Regions from separate parts of the Homo sapiens genome. Here region 1 is linked to region 2. Evidence: promoter capture Hi-C in human tissues and cell types (Jung and others, 2019). All regions are on one chromosome and are shown on one strand. Each heading gives the region's core, a stretch centred on a gene start or on the middle of the fragment in contact. The rest is flanking DNA. Distances are from core to core; before and after follow the strand shown. Region 1 overlaps NFASC (neurofascin). Region 2 holds the start of TMCC2 (transmembrane and coiled-coil domain family 2).

Region 1 (6,609 bases), core at 518-3,017, 210 kb before region 2:
GGCTGTAATATTCAAACCACCTCTGGGCCAATGCATTTCCAAAGGATGCCTTTCTCGCCATATGCCTCCCCTGGCCCCCAGCCCCTCTGCCTCGGCCTTGTCAGTTGCTGAGCTGGGCTTGGCTCCTTTCTGGAAAATGACAGTATTTTTGGCAGGGAGAAGGTGCGCAGGCCTCCTTGCTGCTCTCTGGTTTGGTTGGGAGGTGTGTTTACCTCTTGCTCCTCATTCCTCCCCTGCCCTTTTCTCTGGAATATCTAAGATGTGAGCTGCATTGACTCTGAAGACGTTTGAGGAACAGGAGTGGGCACTGATAGAAAGGACTTCAACGCCAGTGACTGTGTACCTCCAGCAGAAGAAAATCAGGTGTCTGGTCTTGGGGGCACTGTGCTCACTTCTAGAGAGAAGAAAAAGGCTGGGTTTGGACTTCATGCCTCCTCACTGGTGAAACCCAGGATGTAGATAGAGGGCCACACCCACCCTGTCCAGAGTAGAGGGCACCTGTCCACGTGGCCAGGGCCCATGCTGCCACCCTCGAGGAGATGGAACCCTGTGATGCAAAAGCTTTGCTGGTGTGTTTGGGGCATAAGGCACTGCTCCCCTTCCATCTCTAGCAGATATCATCTTCTCAGCCAATTCTGTAGGACACTGAGGCTCTTGTTTGACATGGTGTGTGGATGGGGACTTGCCCCAAGACTGAGCAGGTCTGCCCTTTCATTGGGGTGTATACATATCAGGGGACCCTGAGGTGGCACCGTACTCAGTGTTGTGATGCCCCCACCTAGGGAGGACTCAATGCTCTTTGTATGCCTTATGCAGCGCTGATCTGTCCCTGGAGTTCCCAGGTTCCCAGCTCCCCCCCTGCAAGCCTTGAAGCCTCCAGCAACGTCTATCTCCAGGAGAGCAGGGCAGCCTATGCAAGTGTTCCGGCAGGACCAGAAGTGGCCACTCAACACACGTCCTCACCAGTCACCCCAAATGGAGACACTCGCAGACCTGCAGTTCTCAGACCGAAGGTGCTGCCTTCATCCTCCCCACCTAATGCATTTTTGAAACCAAAGGTACCTAGCCTCAGAGACAGAGAAGGAGAGGGGGAGATCTTGAGTCTAAGAGGAACCCTTTAGCTGTTTCTGCAGCTGAGGTCAGTTTCAGGAGGGTGAAGCTGATCCCCAGGAATGGATCAGCTGCCATGGGCACAGCCTCCGATTTGAGCCTCTCCGGCTGCCAGCCAGGGGGCCTGGGCCAGACCAGGGCTCTGTCCTTCCGTGACTTTATTAAAGCAACATTTGCCACATGTTTAAGCCGCAAAGGTATTAGCAATGCTTGCATCATTAATAATCATTCAGTTGAAGGTCAAGCCCATAGACACACACTCTCTGCTGGTAAGAAACCATAGCCCAGAACTGAGCCAATAAGGTTGTTTGAACCTGAGAGTGTGTAATGGTCATTTGGGCCAAGCCTCAGCTAGGGCTGCTGCCTGGACGCCTGAGGGGCAGCTTATCACAGTGCAAGGGGACAGGGTAAACAGCAGGGGGTGGGGTGTGAGCTTGGAGGGCCCCTCCCCTGGATTTCCTCCAACACCTGCTTGGATACTAGGCCCACTGTCCCTGAAGGGAATGTCAGGGAAGTGTGCCTGTGAGCTGAATTAAAGGACTGGCCTTTCCAGAAAACGCTTTGGATCTGAGCAGAGTAGTCAGTTTCTCAGACACTCATTCCATACTGCACCGTACATGCCAGCGTACCCATTGCACCGAAAGCAGGCCCTTAGGGCAGGAAGGGACGATGAGCAAGTCTGCCACACCACCTGGTGACTGGGAAGGGCTGCTTCTCTCGTAAGGGTCTTGGGGAGAAGTAAGCCCGCAGCCTGCCTCTGCACCTCGTTCCAGTGTCCTGCCAGGCTCTGTACTGTCCTTTGTGTATGAAGAAAATGCTGTTAGCCCTCTCTCAGGCTGCTGTTCTGTGGGTGCTGAGAGCTGCCCCCCATCACCACGCCATCACACCCCTCTGAGCAGAAGCAAATCTGAGGCTGAAGAATTAAGTTTTCCCCAAGCAAGGAAGGCAGGTGGTCAGAGAGATCAAACGCTGAGGCGTGGGGATTGCAGGATTCAGGAGGCAGCCCCTTTGGGGAAGAGGAGGGTGCATTTTCCATGGAGCCCATGTCAGAGTCCACTCCAGCTCAGCAGGAAAGTGGAATTGCCCAGTACTGCCTGCCAGCTGGGTCTCCCAAGCAACTACCCCAAGACATACCAACAGTGAAGCCAGGACAGCACCATGCCATCGGCGCTCCAGTCTGTCTGGCTGGGAGGAAAGTGCTGGGCATCTTACAGTAACTCTAGAAGTTCCTTTGACTAGGCTGCAATCCCACCTATATGCTCAGCCCTAAGAGCTGTGGTTTCCTGTGCTCTCATTTGTCCATTCATTCATTCATTCATTCATTCAGCAAATAATCTGAAATCCAGTCTGAACTAAGGCCTGAGCTGTGGATACCATGGCGCGTGAGTTAGATGTGGTCCCTGCCCTCATGGGGCTGACAGTCCTAAAATCAAGTGCTAGGACACAGTGGCCATTGAGCTGGGAGCATTCTTCCCTCTACCGCTTAAGCCACTGATGGCTGCGAGCTTGAAGAGAGGGATTCTGAGGGAGAGCTTGGTCCATCTGGTCACCAAGGCTGGGCGGGACAGAGCAGTCAAGAACCACGGTGTGGCTTGAGAAACAGTCCTGCTTCCTGAGCCTCTTTGCTCTGCCTCTTGGGGCAAGCTCCTTAACCTGTCTGTATTTTTATGCCTCTGTCTCCCATTCAGTTCCTCCTTGAATACCTCTTTCTACAGAGAGGCACGGGCTCCCCTGAAGGATTGTCGAGGCCAGGGTTCGGGAAGTACACTGCCATCGGTCAGGGGACAGCTGCCTCCCACCTTGCCTGGGTGATGGTGAATGGGACTCATCTTTTCCTGCCTTGCTTTTGAGGAGATGGTTGAATTTAAGCTAACAGGAAAGCCAAACCAGCACCCTCCTTTGTGCTCTGAGAGGTTGGAGACATCTGGTCCACCCCATTGCCCCTGCCCCTGGCAAGCCCTGAAGTCGGGAGAGGTGACCACAGGTCTGAAAATCAGCCAGTGCCAACATTGCTTGCCCTGCAAGGTGCAACTGAGCCCACATAGCGCATTCATAGTTTCCCTGACCACAGCCTTGGGAAGACGGTGGAAACCCGAGGATGTGTGGGTTTCCCAGCTAACGGACAAGCTCCCCTGCCACACCCAGTGCCCACGCATGCTCACATACATACAGCAGACCACAACCCTGTTGCCAAGCAGTGCTTCCAAGGGATAGCGATCCAGATTCCAACATTGTCTTGGAGAGGGTTAGTCCACATCCAAGTTGCGTGAGATAAGATGCAAAGGGCTCTGTGTGGATGAGGAACGCACCTTAGAGGAGTGGGAAAGGCCACCAGGGTTGGGCCCTGTTTAGGTAATTCCTGTTGGCAGCACCTAGAGAGAGCATCTGAGCTGAAGGAGTGGGAAACTTTGCCCAAGCAATGGCACGGGCAGCGGGCTCTTTCTGGCGCCCTGTGCTGGAGCAGGGCCAAGTCTTAGGGCATCACAAACAGCCCATTTGATGGAGGGAGCAGGGACATAGCACATTTTTGTCTGTCTTTGTGAGGCTGCTTTGCTAACTCTCTGAGGAGAGGAAGCCTCTCGGGCTTTCCGTCGGCTGGGGCTAGTGCCAGAGAATCCCTTCTCAGTGGCCAGCAGGTTCCTGGGAGGCCGGCACAAGGCACCGCTCCCCACTCATGACACCTTGGTGCAGAGTGACCTCCTGCCCAGTCACCACTCCGGCCAGCCCCAGCCAAACACACAAAAGCCCATGGTTGCGGTTGCATCTACACCGTTAGTTGGCAAAGGATCCTGCTTGAGCTCTGCGTGGTGGCCAAGGAGTAGCATGGAGGAGGGCCCTGATTTTAAAAAGGAAAAATAGAGAGGCCTCAAAACAATGAAACAAAGAGCTTGATATGTCAAGAGGAGACCAAGGCCCTGGGAGGCATAGGCAAGCCGGGCAGAGTCAGACCAGTGCCCTCCCTTGACCATCTCCTAGCATTCCTTAACCTAGACAGGGGCTACCCCATGTGAGTCCAAGCCAGACTTTGTGGCTGTCCCCAGCCTGCACAGCCCAAGCCCAGGGAAGTGTCCTTTCTTTCCCTTCCTTACTAATAATGGGCCTTCCTGAGACACATTCAGAGAAGGATCAGAGAGAAAGGAGAACCATCCAGGAGAGCCACAAGCGTCCACCAAACAGTGTCTCAGGCCTCACCTGAAGCTGCTGTTCCTCCTATCAGCACACTAGTATTAAATGGGTGTTCCATAATGAGGAGAATGGAAATAGGTACAAGGCATCTAGCTTAGGACAGAATCGGATTTCGGCATGTGAAGGAATCCCAGAGCTGATCTCATTGAAATGATCTATCGTACAGACAAGGATATGCAAATCCACAGAAGTGAAGGGATTTTTGCTCAAGATCACATAGCTGGTAAACTAAGGTAAGGTTAGGGCTTGAACTTGGGCCTTCTGACTCCTTGTCCAGTCAGTGTTCTTTCATCTCACCACAGCTGCCTCCTTTGAAACAGAGGTATTAAGATCTGTCCTTCTGGTTCACCCTCTCATACCTCTTTACTGCGTCTCCCACATCCCCCACATGCCTCCCAAAATGAAAGACAAACAGGATTGTTTCTGAGACCAAGATCAGTCTGTCTGTGATCAGCCTGTGTGTGGTTCACCCAGTCATGCAATTAAGGGCAGATCTGGGCCAGTGGAATAGGATAGCTGATTGGTGTTTGTTACTGTGAACCCTAGACCGTACCCCGTAGAATGGTGTCTCTTGCTTTGTAACACATCGGGCCTTCAGTGTGCTGTATTCCTCAGAAGTGAGGGCATCTCGGTCCATTCTGCCCATGGCCACAGGGTGCAGAGAGGCAGCAGGGCCCATGCAAGCTGCCACCCTGGGATTTGCTGGGCTGGAGTTCAACAGATGTAAAGACTTCAGTGAAGCAATAAACACAAAACTCTGGGAGAAGATATCCAGAATTTTGTACATTACTCTGTTTCTTTTTCAAAAATGAGGCAGATCAGATGCCCCTGAGCTGCCCCTTTTTTTCTGATTCCCAACTGCAATGTCCTCAGTCAGTGTTGTCCCTCTGCCCGGCTCCCCAGCTCTTTGCCAACCTCTTCACACTCCCCTTGAGCTGAGCATCAGTCGCCTGTGACGTGGCCACCTTCTGTCCTGCTCCCACTCCCGACCCATGCTGGACCCCGGAGGACCTCCTGCCCCGCCCCCACCACACACCCATATCCCCCACCATTCCAATTTGTTCTTTCCCGTGGGGAATTTTTTTTCCCAGCGTCTCCATCCCTTCCTACATATCCACACACACACAAATTGGTCTGATCTTTTTTCCATTGGTTAAACATTTAACTCCATGCCAGACCTTGTTTTAACCCCTCTCACATCATGTTCTTTCCTTTTTTGCGAGTTATTTTGCATTAACCAACTTTGTCAGTGACAGATGCGTATCTGAGGGTGTCACACACGACCTTCAGCAGGGAAGACTTCTGGGCCATGGAGGGCCGTCTAATACATGGACTTATAAACTGACTGCATGAGCAATGAAAAGGCCAAATTATTCTGAATTTTTTTTGAATCACTGTAAAAAAACTGATTTCTTTTGTATAGAGAACACTAAACGTATAATAAAAGTTGTTCAAAATGGACTCTTGCCATGTGATTTGCTCATTTTCTTGATTTGTTCCTGTTGGTAGGTAGGAGAGGGGTGTCAAAGAGCTGATGGCAAAAGTGGATCAAAGGGTTTTTCATGGGTGCCAGACAGCACACTCTTCCAGAATTCTACCATACCATCCCCCCTCTAGAAGTTGTTATTCTCGAAGACTCACTTGCACAATTTGTGTTTTAAACATAGTGTGACTGGTATAGGAATGTGTAATGTGTACAGTCGTGGAGACACCCTCTGATTCAACGTGATGCGTGTGCACATCCACCATTGAAAAAGTGCCATGCTAGGGAAGTCGGGAGAATGGGAGAAATTTGCCATGGTGCTCCGTCTCCTAGCCCCCTCCTCTTTCTGCACCGCTTGCCCTTAGGTCAAACATCAGCGTATGCCCAGCATTGTGCCTGGCACAAGGTAGACATTTCATATTGTTGAAAGAATAAATAAAACTGCTTACTACAAACCAAAAACCCCTCTCAGTAGACTCAAAGGAATCTTGATCAACAACCAAATAGGGGCCAGGCACGGTGGCTCACGCTTGTAATCCCAACAATTTGGGAGGCCGAGGTGGGTGGATCATTTAAGCTCAGAAGTTCGAGACCAGCCTGACCAACATGGTGAAACCCCGTCTCTACTAAAAATACAAAAAAAAAAAAAAAAAAAATTAGCTGGGTGATGTGGCGCATGCCTGTAGTCCCAGCTACTCTGGAGGCTGAGGCAGGAGAATCACTTGAACCCGAGAGGCAGAGGTTGCAGTGAGCCGAGATCGTGACACTACACTCCAGCCTGGGCCACAGAGCAAGACTCCGTCTCAAAAAAAAAAAAAAAAAAAAAGGAA
Region 2 (6,263 bases), core at 3,605-6,104:
ACAAGGTTCCTAGCAAAATGTCAAACACCTGTGGATCTCTTTAAATGGTGGACTTTTACTATTACTATTGTATCTAAAAGTACCACATATGATTATAGATAGAACTGCCCACAGATATTTATTTTCAGATGTAAAATAATAAACAATCGATTCTCTCTGAGCAAAGCTGATATTTTCTCTTTCTTTTTAAGGTCTAGAATTTTCAGCTTTAAGTAACAGATTGTCCAGAGGTTTGTATGGATTCCCTATAGAGATGGGAAAGGGCACAAAGCAGCCATTTTACCAGTCCCAGGCTTTCACACATAGTAGTACAATCAGGGTTTAAGTTTATGCTTCACAGTCCTCCTCTGTTCATGGCCATGATTATCATTTTTTCTCCCATTACAGAGGAGAAACCAGAATAAAGAATATGCATCCTACCTGAAATGAGAAGCAGGAACTTCTGGCTTTTTCATATTACAGATAGGAGATTCACCCACCCCAGGAATGAAACAGACATTGGAATCTCCTGTGTAAGTCTTAGGGATGCTGTGAGAGAAATGATCACAAAGTTAGTAATCTGGGTTTGCTTACTCCTTTAAAACATTGCCAGTTTGGGCCAGGCGCCGTGGCTCACACCTGTAATCCCAGCACTTTGGGAGGCCGAGGTGGGCGGATCACCTGAGATCAGGCATTCAAGACCACCCTGGCCAACATGGAAAAACATTTTTAGTCTCTACTAAAAATTAGTCCGCAAAAAATTAGTCAGGCTTGGTGGCAGATGCCTGTAATCCCAGCTACTCGGGAGGCTGAGGCAGGAGAATTGCTTGAACCCAGGAGGCAGAGGTTGCAGTGAGCCGAGATCACGCCACTGCTCTCCAGCCTGGGCGACAGAGCGAGACTCCATTTCCAAAAAAAAAAAAAAAAAAAAAATTGCCAGTTTGGTATCAGAGATTCTGTGTTTTGAATGAAATAATGTATACAATTTCTGCATAAATATAGTAATGGCAGCTTTATTTCTAAAGGCAAAAAATAGAGAAAATTATGTCAAAGGATGAAGTGGATAGTATGTTAAACCATGATATCTTCAGTTGACAGAACATTAAGCAGTCATTTAAAATGTTTACTTAAACATATGGAATATGGCTAATAATATATGGAATAATATGGGAAAATGTAATAATGTTGAAAATGCTGCTGAGTACATTTCAAGTAAAAAATAGGATAAAATTTAGTTTAGGCTAATAAGAGCTTTCTCCAATCAGGAGTGATATAGAGCCTTCCTGGTCCTCTCTTCCTTTTACAATAGCCAGTAAAAAGCCTGTATTTAGGTGGTGGGATTGTGACAACATCAACAATCCAGACAATCTTCTTAAGGATTATTTGCATAGTTTACTCTTCCTAATCCAACAGAACTCAATTTCTTTTAAGGAGTGCACTGCGTGGAAGTGGTCATCTCCAACAAAAAGGGAAGAGAATTACATTAACAAAGGAGTATATGCAATGATATTGGTATCAAAATTCAGTGAGCAAAATTATTATATCTAGTCCCTCTAGAGAGTACTTTTACCTTTGAATCACTCTACTCAGTATGTTAAATCTTAAAATAGCGCACTGACAACCACTTATCCATTTGATGTTTAAATGTTTTTTTAAGTATTGCTATGGAATAGGACATAGAATTGCCTTGGATAATCTGCAAGCTTCTTACTATTGGCAAAAAGAGAAGCCTTTTATTTTTCAGACCTAATTGCTTTTACAAAAAGAAAGAAAACAAAACAAAACCCTACTCTACACTTTGTTAATCTTGGCACCTTATCCTCTATAATGAAAGCTTCAACCATTTATCAAACTAAATGAACTGGGTGTTGACAAGAGAGCAGGATTCCATAATTCTGCCCTTTATACTCCTTGTGTGTATACTTATTGGTTTAGCAAATTTGATACTACCAGAGTGCTCCCTTTCATTAGTTTAACTGGGATTTCTGTTCACAAAAAGCATTCAGCTTATTGGGATAATTCTCTTTCTCATATGGTATATGGGGGGCTTGGACAAGTTAATTATTTTTGTTTCACTTAGTTTTACTGCACATATACCATGTGTCAAGCATTTTCACGTGCATTATCTACCTTCATCCTCACAATAACCAGTGAAGATAGATAGTATTAGCCCTGGTTTATAGATGAGAAAACCGAGGGTGAAAGAGGTTAAGCTCACAAGAAGTAACCGAACTAGAATGCTTACATGAATTTTCTGACACCAAGACCAATGTTCTTCCCACTAAATCATGTTATTTCCTTGTAATTAACTAGGTGTGCCAAAACAGAATGGAAATGCTACTCCTACATAGAAAATATAATCACTTGCATTGTGTATCTGCAAACTTTTGTCTAATCTTGAATATCAAAACATAATTTGTGCCTATATTTTCCCAAAGAAACGTAGAATGATAGAATAATCTAATGCCGTAAACAAAATTTCAACCAACCAAAGTACTTTCAAGTTCTGATTTTCTTAGGTGCTCAAGAATTTGCTGCGGCTAATGAAAATTTGCCATTGGCTTCAAACTGGTGGTTATAGGTCACTCAGGTCTCTACACAGACTTCTCAGCCAAACTTCTTTGGCAGTAGCACACTTATTCCATAATATGACACTCAGTGAAAGTCAGAAATTGGTGGGACACATTTGAACTCCTGAAGATAGAAGCATTGGAGTGAAATGTGCAACACTTCTGAAACTGGATGACATCTGTGGTTATAGCTATGGCCCTCATTCTTTGCTAGGCAATGTCCAAGTGCTTTACATATATTACCCAACACCCTGTATGGTAGGTACTGTCATTATCCCTACTTCCAAATAATTCAGAAACTGGAGCATGAAGAGGTTAGATAACGTGTCCCCACTCACATGGTCAGTGAAGAGCAGAGCTAGGATTTGTCCCCTATCTGGCCATAGAGCCTGAGCTCTTAACCATTATGCTATGATGCCTCTCCAAAATGGAATGTAAAGTATTAGCTGATTTTATGAAACACACCACAGACTTTTTTGCTGACCTGAATCACACCTTGCAAATATGACGACAAGTAGAAAATGTGGCTGTCATGCTGTATGTATATGATAATATAAAAATCAAACTTAAGACCAACTTTTATCTAGTATAGAAATGAGGCATAATTCAAAATTATAATGCTCTCTGCTTCCTTAAACGAAACCAAATCCCTTCCTTAAACCAAATCCCTTCACTTTCCTTCGGCTTCGAGTCAGGTCATGAACATGTGTCAATGCATGCTCACCATTTGCTGGCCACCGCGTGCCCCTCAAGACTTGCTCAGGGTCTTTGGGGCCGCTGCACTTATCTGGGCCAAGTCAGGCAGGGAGCAGTATATTCCTCTGCTTGAAACCTTGCACCATGGGAACCTGCCCCCACCGGTTCTGTCTAGTCCTGCCCACGGTCTACACTGGCATCCTGCCATCCCCTCACCATTGAAAATGCTAAATAAAGGCTTATAGCTTTGTGTTTCCACATTGTGCTCGATTCTTTGTGGTAGATGTGGGGGGTGGTTCCACATTCCCAGCCCATCCTAAATTCCTATCTTCTAAAAGTGGAGCTGCCTAGTTTAGAAAGTAGCTGCTTGGCTGAAGTAAATTCTTAACAAATTAGTCTCTTCTAGGATACACATTAAAATGAGTGGTTGGAATGGGAAGAAGACAGAACAGAAAGTCAAGAAACTCCGACTAGTGAGACTGAAGTGAGGCTACAATGGCATGATGGGTGCGAAAGAGATTGGTAAACTGTAAAATCCTTTAGAGACCGTGTGGCCCCTTCACTGTCTAGGCCAGTGGTTCTCAAAGGGTAGTGTGTGTCAGAATTACCTGGAGGGCTTGTCAAAACACAGATTTCTTGGCTCACTACTTCTGATTCTCTAGGTCTGGCTGGTGGCCAAGAATTTGCATTTCTATCAAGTTCCCGTGTGATGCTGAAGTTGCTAGTCCAAGGATCACAATTTGTGAACCACTGGTTGCTGGATGAGTAAAATCCATTGTGTCCACAGGAGGCATACAATAGACACTCAGATGGGGTTGTTATTATTACTACTCTCCATATCTTGGTAACCCCAACGTTTGCTCTCTTCTGCTTCCAGATTACTCAGCACAGTTTGGCTGAGATTTATGCAAAGAGAGACAGCATTCCCTTTCCACACATCTATATGTAGCAACCTCCTGCCATTAATACCCTTTCTTATTTAAAAGCTGCTTCACAGTTTGTAAGGAACTCTCACATACGTTATTGTGTTTTTATATGAAATTCTTCCCAATTTCTGAGCATAAATTATGCCAAGTAAAGTCTCATTAAGAAATAATGCACTTAAAGCGGGGGACGGGGCGATGAGGAGAGAACGCCCCCTCCCCTTGGCATTTGCAGCTCTGAATGTAGGCATAGATTTAACTCAGACCAAGTATCCTAGAGGGGATAGGTGTCTCCCTTATGGCTAGAAGGTGCAAAGTTAAGAGCCCCAAAAAGCAGTGATAATAAACATCCCTCTTGTGCTCCTTCTCGCCAAATAAAGCGAATGGGTGGAGGAAATCCTGGGCGAGCCCTCCTCGGCAGGGTCCCTCAAGCTGGAGCCGAAACTGCGACTCCCACGCCCGCCGCCCCCGCCCCTGAACTGCAGCCCGCTCTCTGCAATGCAAAAACGCAGCAGCATCGTCCTCCAGCCCTCTCCTGGGGGATCGCACGGTGCAACCAACCCCAAAAACGAAGCTGCGCGACGCCCCCTCAGCCCCGCGGGCTTCCCATTGGCCGGTTGCCGCTGTCACTCCCTCCTAGCCTCGCCTTCCCGCTCCCGGGCGGAGGCAGCCGGGCGGGGTAGGTTGCGCGCTCGCCGCGGGCTCGGGCCGCGGTCGCGGCTTTGCGGCAGGCTGCGCGTCAGGCGGGGAGCGGGGCGCGCGGGCCGGGGAGGGGGCCGGGCGCGCTGCGGGCTCCGCGGCCGGACCATGCGGGGCAGGGGCCGGTTGCAGGGCCGGGGGCTGCAGCCGGCGCCGATGGCGGCCGACTAGGACCTGCCCGGCCGGCTGCCCCGCGCCCCGCCTCGCCCCGCAGCCCGGCCGGCCGGGAGGGATGCGCTGTGCCGCCCAGCTCCTCTCCGTCCTGCCCATGCCCTGAAGCAGAAAGTTTGGGGGCCGGGGGTTGTCTCCCTTCTCCCTCCTGCAATGACTGCCCAAGGACTCTTGCTGCCCAGCCTCGACTGTGACCTGTCTTCGCTCCCCAGGTCGAAATGAACTATTCCAAGCTATAACCAAGGCTCCCCCTTCTCGCCCCTCCCTCACCCGCCTTTAAGAATTTTTTTTTTAATTCAAGAAATTGTGGTCTGCCATCTCCCCTCCTTGTTAATAATTTAGACCCCAGGCCTCATATGAATATAAGAGGGGGTGCGGTCTTCCCCAAGACGGCGCGCTGGAAGGACAGATTCCCCTTGCCGACCCACATACACCATGAAGAGGTGCAGATCGGACGAGCTGCAGCAACAACAGGGCGAGGAGGATGGAGCTGGGCTGGAAGATGCCGCTTCCCACCTGCCGGGCGCGGACCTCCGGCCTGGGGAGACCACGGGTGCTAACTCTGCTGGCGGGCCAACTTCAGACGCCGGCGCTGCCGCGGCGCCCAACCCAGGTCCCCGAAGCAAGCCTCCTGATTTAAAGGTGAGCGCAGACCATCCCCCCGGCAAGCCCAGCCCGCGACTTAGCTCTCGCCACCCCACGCAGAAGTGCTTTAACAGGATAAAAGTGAGGGGGGAAGCCAGGCAAAGGTCAGAGAGGATGAGCGGATGCTTTGCTGGCACCCCAGGGGGGACGTCAGGTACCATTTATGCCTCTGTCTTTCAGCTCCGTGTCAGGTCTCTGTGTTTGTTCCCCATTATTCAGCAAGCGTTTTAGTGACTCACCCATCCGAGATTGTTTGAATAATGTGTGAAGTGTTATTCGCAGACAAAGGGCTGGAGAAATCCAAGATGCTAACCAAAAAGTGGACAGCAGGTGACCATTAGTTTTCCTTGCTGAGTAAGTCTCTACCCATTGGGATCTTTGTGTGTGTGTGTGTGTGTGTGTGTGTGTGTGTGTGTGTGTGTGTATGTGTGTGAGACGGAGTCTCGTTCTGTCGCCCAGGCTGGAGTGCAGTGGCGCGATCTCGGCTCACTGCAACCTCCACCTCCTCGGTTCAAGCGATTCTCCTGTCTCAGCCTCCAGAGTAGCTGGGATTACAGGCACCCGCCACCACGCCCGGGTA

Evidence for each region. The method cuts DNA at HindIII sites, captures the fragments that hold promoters and counts their contacts. A contact is called where the count stands out against the background at its distance.
Region 1: a contact is called between a fragment that was not itself captured here and the fragment with the promoter of TMCC2 in region 2, in 1 of the 25 tissues and cell types used here (dorsolateral prefrontal cortex).

The regions. Positions count from the first base shown.
Region 1 is chr1:205,017,066-205,023,674 of GRCh38, forward strand. NFASC (neurofascin) reads left to right here. Exons shown (of 30, transcript NM_001005388.3): 30 at 1-5,757. Among named protein-coding and RNA genes, the nearest start is that of CNTN2, 23 kb to the right of the region's middle. RefSeq lists enhancers at 920-1,717, 1,718-2,513. The HindIII fragment of the contact is 9,872 bases long and covers 1-6,609 here.
Region 2 is chr1:205,223,092-205,229,354 of GRCh38, forward strand. TMCC2 (transmembrane and coiled-coil domain family 2) reads left to right here and starts at 4,855. Exons shown (of 5, transcript NM_014858.4): 1 at 4,855-5,680. The coding sequence starts at 5,474. RefSeq lists an enhancer at 4,506-4,645 and a silencer at 4,776-4,955. The HindIII fragment of the contact is 10,382 bases long and covers 485-6,263 here.